Regions from separate parts of the Homo sapiens genome. Here region 1 is linked to region 2. Evidence: promoter capture Hi-C in human tissues and cell types (Jung and others, 2019). All regions are on one chromosome and are shown on one strand. The core of a region is centred on a gene start or on the middle of the fragment in contact, and the rest is flanking DNA. Distances in the headings are between cores, read along the strand shown. Region 1 has its middle 35 kb from the start of TRIM62. Region 2 holds the start of TRIM62 (tripartite motif containing 62).

Region 1 (3,502 bases), core at 973-3,472, 36 kb after region 2:
AAAATATACTTATATAGAATGAATAATATCCTAGTATTTTAGTATTTGATAGCACAACAGAGTGACTATGGTCAACAGTAATTTATTGTATATTTAAAAATAACTAAAAGAGTGATATTGGAATGTTCCTAACACAAAGAAATGATAAATGCTCGAGGCAATGGATACCCTGATTACCCTGATGTGATTATTACACATTGAGTGCCTGGATCAGTACATTGCCCTATGTACTCCATGAATATGGAGTATCCATAGTCACTAACATTTTTTAAAAATTTAAAAATCAATATAAAAATTCTGTACCCTGGTAGTGTTGCAAAAATGAAGTTCACAGTCACATTCAGAGTGATATTTTCTACAAATCCTCAAATAAATTTTGAAATTGAGCACACATATATAGGAATATGCTGATGCTTGTAATGTTTTCTTAATGTCACGAATTTTTTGAAAAAGGTTTTCTGCCATAAACCAGGGGCCTATATATGCTTATTATGTATAACAAACATGGTTTGAAGCAATGTTTCTCATGATTATAAAAGTAAATACAGTCAAGGTGTTGCCAACTAAACCTTGGGCTAATAATTTTATCTTATTATATGTCAGTATCTCCAACCTGTGATATATTTATAAAAACAAACGTTTCCATAATACTTTAACTCTAAGACCAGTGCTGTACTTATACTGAAAGTGAAATGTAAGACCTCCTATATTCTTCTCCTCTGAAAAAGTTTAGAGAGTTTTTCCATCCCTTGCATTCTAAAGTAAAAGGGGTGGGAGAGGAGGGGAAAATGAGACAGTTTAATTAAATGCAGTTGACTCTTCATTTGACCAGCATCTCTTGTCTGCTCACTGTATGCTAAGCACAGGGCTAGCCACAGACGGTACAAAGATGAATAAAGTATGCTCTTAAGAAACAGAAAAAAGGGCCGGGCGCGATGGCTTATACCTGTAATCCCAGCATTTTGGGAGGCTGAAGCGGGCAGATCATGAGGTCAGGAGTTCGAGACCAGACTGACCAACATGGTGAAACCCCATCTCTACTAAAAATACAAAAATTAGCCAGGCGTGGTGGCAGGCGCCTGTAATCCCAGCTACTCAGGAGGCTGAGACAGGAGAATCCCTTGAACCCAGGAGGCAGAGGTTGCAGTGAGCCGAGATTGTGCCATTGCACTCCAGCGTGGGCCACAGAGCAAGACTCTGTCTCAAAAAAAAAAAAAAAAAAAAGAAACAGGAAAAAAAAAATTCCTCTGGGAGTCAAAGAAGGCTTCCTGGAGGAAAGAACATTTATTTAGGATGATTTTAAAGAAGGATCAAAAGCTTCGCACTTATAGAAGGCAGGAATATAATAATAAATAGAAAGAGTTGCATGAGCCAAGGTACAGGAAGGTAAAAAGACTTGGTAGAGTCAGCACATAGGATGGGCCCCCTGTGCAGGTGGCTGGAGGGGCTGGGCAAGGGCTGCAAATGGAGGGTGGGTTCACATCACTGAAGGCCTTGAATAAGGGCGGTGGGGAACCACAGAGAGCTTTTCCAAGCAGAGGCGACGCGTGGGAGTAGAGTTTTCAGGGAATCCCCCTAGGGTGGTGTAGAGAATGAATTGCTGAGGCGGTTCTGGAGGCAGGAAGACTGGGGATGGAGAGAGGCCACCATCCATCCCTTACAACCCAGCTTCCAGCTCAGCATCAGGAACAGGCACGTGGCACAAAGATGTTCCCAGGGAGCAATGACTTCCTGGCTCAGTGCTAAGGAGGCTAAATTGGAGATAATTGTACTCCCAGCAAATCAGTAACAGCACCATCTCAGTGGAAACCTGCTGCCTAACCTGATCTAACTTCTGACCTTCAGATCCACCTTATGAAGTGAGAGCAGTGAGGAAGGAGCCCTGGCCTAGGGTCTGAAGGCCTGGGTTTTGGTGCCCAATTCAGCACTAGCTCACTGTGTAACCTTGGCCAATTCCCTTGCCCAATCTGAGCCATGTAATCTGTCACTCCTGCCTCACACAGAGGGTGTTAGACCAGCAGGCGTTTTCCTCTCTGACCATCTAGGACTCATTCCAGGCAACTTTACACTGGGTCAGATGCAGCTCCAGATCTCTGCACCCCACCTTAATATCCCAACCACCAGCTTGCTGTCCTAGCAGGGCCACCCCCATCCTACCACTGGGCTCCCCCACCTGGGGAAGCAAGATCTTCTGACTGTTCTCTTTCTTCAGAATGAAAACAACTTTATTGTTTTCATTATTAAAATAATATAGACTCATTAAAAAGAAATTTAAACCATAAGAGAAGTATACAGGAGAAAGTAAAATTTAAGTGAAATCTTATTATACAAAGGTAGCCACCATTAAGATTTTGGTAACAGTCTTCCAAGATAACTCCTTATGTTCACACACACACACAAACACACACCCACAACTTTATGTAAACTGGATCATAGTATTTTAACTATGGTGCAATCTCAGTTTTTCACTCCATAATATGTCATGGATATCTATGTAAAAAATATATTTATCTTATTACTGTCAAAGTTTTACTTTGATTACATACTCACATACAAATATACAATTTACATAAATGTATAAACGTGATCAGCATGAACATGAGCAGAATCCAGTTACGTCTTTATTTTTAGTGGCTCCCTATTTTTCTCTATAGTCCATAGATGGACCATAAACACTGTAGCAGCAAACACCTTTAAACATATATTCTTTTGCATTTTTAGGATAAATTTCTAGATGCAGAACAGTTAGGTAGAAAAATGTAGGGGCTGGGCATGGCAGCTTATGCCTATAATCCAGCACTTTGGAAGGCCAAGGTGGGAGGATCACTCGAGTTCAGGAGTTCAAGATCAGCCTGGGCAACATAGGGAGATACTGCCTCTACAAAAAATTTAAAAATTAGCTGGGCATGGTGGTGTATGCCTATGGTCCACGCTACTTGAGAAACTGAGGCAGGAGGATGACTTGAGCCCTGGAGGTCGAGGCTGCAGTGCCCTGTGATTACACACACCACTGCACTCCAGCCTGGACCCTGTCTCAAAAAAAAATGTGAATATTAAAATTTTTGATATTGCCCTCCAAAAAGCTAGTACCAATCTCACTGCTACTGACAATACATGAATGCCTGTTTCTCAGCACTCTTTCTAAAAGAAGGCATTGTCAATTTGTAATCTAACAGGTGAACTTGTCATTATTGTTTTTATTATCATTTATTTGGTTATTAGTGAAATTGATCATCTGCTTATTGGCTATTTGGATGTTTTCTTTTGTGAAATGGCCTGTTTATGTCCTTTGTCTATTTTTTTCTGTTGGATTAAATTTGTTTGTTTCTTATTGCTTTTTAAGAACTCTTTGTATATTAGGGATTTAACCTTAACCCATCTGGTTTCTCAGGGTCCGTGGAGTTGGGCAATGTAGTCCCCTGTGAAGTCAGATTCCCAAGAGATTGGAACAGTTCTGCCTCTGGTCAGTGGAGGGCAGCAGTGGCAGCAACATTCACTTTCA
Region 2 (3,556 bases), core at 775-3,274:
GGAACTTGGAGAAGGCTTCACGGAGAGGATATTTGAGCAAGGCTCAATAAAAGTTGAGTAGGAGTTTGTCAGTGAAGACAGGAAGTCTTAAGGGAGACCGATTAGAGTTCTATGCCAACTATGCTCAGGTCACTCTGCATGTACCGTTTCACTTAGTCTTCAAAAGTCCTGATGTGGGGGACAGAGCCAAAGAGGTCATCAAAAACCTCTAGAGACTCCTAGAGGTCTAGCCCCTCCCTTCTTGAATCACCTTACATCTGGGCCTTATTCTCCAAATCTTTACCTTTAAGTCCTGGCCCCACTCAACCTGGCCTCTACTCTGGCTTAAATCTAAACTTGTTGTAGAGTATCCGGACCTGATCTCAGTCTTAACCCCTCATACACCTTGGCCTAACCCTCGGTACTCAAACCTGCCCTCTCAGCACTTTGGCACCCTAACTTATACCACTCTATTAGGTTTCACCCTCACCTGTCCAGCACATTCTAGCCCCCGTACTCCTCTTAGTCCTGATGCACATCTGATCCGGTCTCCGCCCCCACAGAACCCCCAGCCTGCCAGAGCTCAGCTACCCGGTTTAATACAGACCCATCCTCGCGACCTCGCCCTCAGTCTGACAGTGGCCCTGCCTTTGCCCAACTCTGATTCCGGTTCGTCCACAACCCTGCCCCAGCCCAGTATCTGGTCCAGTTCTGATCTCACTTGTTTCCGCCATCCCATCCGCATCCCCGACTTCTCCCTAACCGCGGACCAGCCGGTACTCCAGGTCTGTCTCAGATCCCTCAGGGTCCGGACTGCCCAAGGCCCCGCCCCCACGGCCCCGCCATGCGGCGGCCCCGCCCCTCCCTGCCCCGCGTTACTCCTGATAGGGCCCTGACCTTGCTGGCGGCCCCGCCCCAGGACCATTCTGACTGGGCCTGGCCCGCGGTCCAGCCCTGACCCCACCCCCCGCCCGGCCCCACCTCCAGCCCGGCCCCGCCCCTTCCCCAGGCAGGCCGGGTAGCGCACCTGCAGCTCGTCGAAGGCGTCGTCGATGCCGGTGACCTGATGCTGCTCGTGCAGTGCAGGCTCGTCGCAGAAGAAGCAGAGAAGCGCGCGGTCCGTGAGGCAGAAGAGCTTGACCTTGTCGTGCGCCTGGCAGGGTCGCGCGGCGCGGCGCGCGTTGAGGATGGCGTCCAGCGGGAAGGAGCTGTAGCGCTCCACGATGTTGGCCAGCTTGAGGCTGGGCGCCAGCGCGGGCTCGGCGAACGTGCGCCGGCACTCGGGGCAGTCGCGGGCGCCCTGCGCCTCCTGCCGCACCCAGTGCTCCGTGATGCAGCGGCGGCAGAAGTAATGCTCGCAGCCCAGGCTCACCGGGTCCTGGTAGATGCTCAGGCAGATGGAGCACAGCAGCTCGTCCTTGAGGCTGCACGCCATGGCGCCAGGGGCAGCAGAGAGGGGGGCCCGAGGGGCAGGGGGGCGGCTGAGAGAGCGCGGCGCTGTCGGAGGCAGCACCGAGGGCTGGGCGCGGGGACGAGGCCCGCACAGGCAGGGGTAGGAGCTACCGGAGAAGGGAGGGGGTGCTGTCCGGAAGGAGGGTAACGCGAGGAAGGGGTGCGCGGCTGAGACTCCGTGGGACGCCAGCCCGGGAGGGCAGTCTAGAGGTAGTGGGCAGCTCAAGGCGATGGGCGCTGGGAGGAGGCTGTGAGCGGCTGAGGGACGGAGATCCTGACGGGGAGGTTCTAGGGGGCGGGGCAGTCCTAAGGGATAGGAGCTGGGAGAAGGGGATCCCGGAGCGGGGTGGAGCCCTTAAGGGGGTCGAAATCCCGGGGTGGGGGCGGTGCGGGGAGGGCGAGAAGCTGGGGATGGGGAATCCTGGGGGAGGGGGCAGCCAGGCCGAGCCGTACATTGGCTGTGACCGGCAGAGAAGAGGAGGGGTGCCGGCCCGCTCAGCTGCCGGATCCCGGCCCCAAACCCTGGCCCAGCGCGACCCCTTACCCCCGCGAGCTTAGCAGCCACCGCTTCGGTCCAGCGCAGCCTCTCAACCCGGAACCAGCCGAATCCGAGCTGCCGGTGGCCGCGGCTGCCTCCCCGCCCCCGTGGGCGGGACCCAAGCAACTCCGCCCCCGCAGCGGGCGGGGGAGGGGCGGGGCCACCAGCCGGTTGACCCCGCCCCACCCCCACCATCCTCCAGCTCCCAGGGAAGCGAAGCCCAGCTGTTCCTTCGGGGTGTGTACTTGGAACTGCATCCAGGTCTCGCTTAGGGTCCCCGCGGCGAGGCGGAGCAGCTAATTTGAGAGCACAACAAATAAACAAGGAGCATCTTTCTGGATCATCGATTTGAAGATGTAGAAAAAATCATATTTTGTATTAAAACGAACAAGAATATATTTGGAATACAACTTCTGCATAAAATATAAAGATAAAACTCTTGAAATGCCCTGCTTGCTTAGAGCGAGTTCAAGGCCCTCACACTCCTAAGCCCTGGGGTCCCATTTCCTCTTCACTTTCTTAAGGAGTGCTTGGGGAGAAGTTTGGAAAGCCCTGGCTAACATCTGGCCCCGGAGGCTGCCTCCATTGGCAAACAATTCTGGAGTGCTGTATTTGTGTGTGTGTGTGTGTGTGTGTGTGTGTGTGTGTAAGGCGGTGAGGGGTGGAGCAGGAGAGAGGGAGAAAAAGTAATAGGAGAACTTGTCTTGTGTGCCAGATGGAGAGGGGATAAGGGATTTCTAGGCAGAGGAGACAGCCTGTGCAAAAGCATAGAGGCGTGAAAGGGGAGGGCGCAGTGAAGGAAGTGCTAGTAATTCTGTACTGTTGGGGGTGGGGTGGAGAAGGAGCCTGGGTGGGCTGGAGGGCATTGTGGGTCATGGTAAAGAATTTCTTGAAGGCATGGGGCTTTCAGGCAAGGGAATGACCTGGTCCGATTGGGTTTCAGGAAGTCTTGGAGATAATCATTATACCATCTGCAAGGTGAAGAAGACAGGGAGCTTTTCCAATGTGTCTGCGGATGCACAGCACTCAGCACACAGTAAAGGTGTGTAGCTGAATAACCGCATCAACGCCCTGGGTTGCAGGAGGAAGGAAAGACTGGGCACCCCTAAGGTGCTGTTGTCATCGTGCCTGCAGGAGGTGAGACCCGAACTGGGGCCTCAGCAGTGGGTAAGGAGAGAAGACTAGGGTATTGCAAGTACAGACACGGTGACATTTGGTGATGGTTGGATACGGGGGTGAGGGAAATGAGCCATAGAGGGTGGCTACCAGTTTCTGCCTCCTCCAGAAATATCTTCATTGGTGTTAAACTTTATTGAGGTACAGTTTATGAAAAAGCTCTCAGTTTAGTTCTCTATGGTTAACACTTTCTCCATCACACCCTCATCTGGCCCAGAATCTCCATCATTGCGAGAAAAATAGTTGGTTGCTCATGCAACAGCAGTTTCTCAACATTTTCTTATGGGCAGAGCCCTGATTTTGGTCAGGTGGCCCCCTTCCCCAAGTGACCCAAGGAAGGCTGACCCCAGCCCATTTCCAGGAGTGAGTCTTGTTTGGTCCAAGTCCATTATGGTGGTCTCATGGAGTGAG

What was found. The method cuts DNA at HindIII sites, captures the fragments that hold promoters and counts their contacts. A contact is called where the count stands out against the background at its distance.
Region 1: a fragment that was not itself captured here is called in contact with the fragment with the promoter of TRIM62 in region 2 in 1 of the 25 tissues and cell types used here (aorta).

What each region holds. Positions count from the first base shown.
Region 1 is chr1:33,215,396-33,218,897 of GRCh38, forward strand. It overlaps a transcript of ZNF362 not described here. Among named protein-coding and RNA genes, the nearest start is that of TRIM62, 35 kb to the left of the region's middle. The HindIII fragment of the contact is 7,640 bases long and covers 1-3,502 here.
Region 2 is chr1:33,180,019-33,183,574 of GRCh38, forward strand. TRIM62 (tripartite motif containing 62) reads right to left here and starts at 2,025. Exons shown (of 5, transcript NM_018207.3): 1 at 1,007-2,025. The coding sequence starts at 1,414. It also overlaps a transcript of ZNF362 not described here. RefSeq lists an enhancer at 548-717 and silencers at 800-999, 1,590-1,659, 1,890-2,199. The HindIII fragment of the contact is 6,299 bases long and covers 1-3,556 here.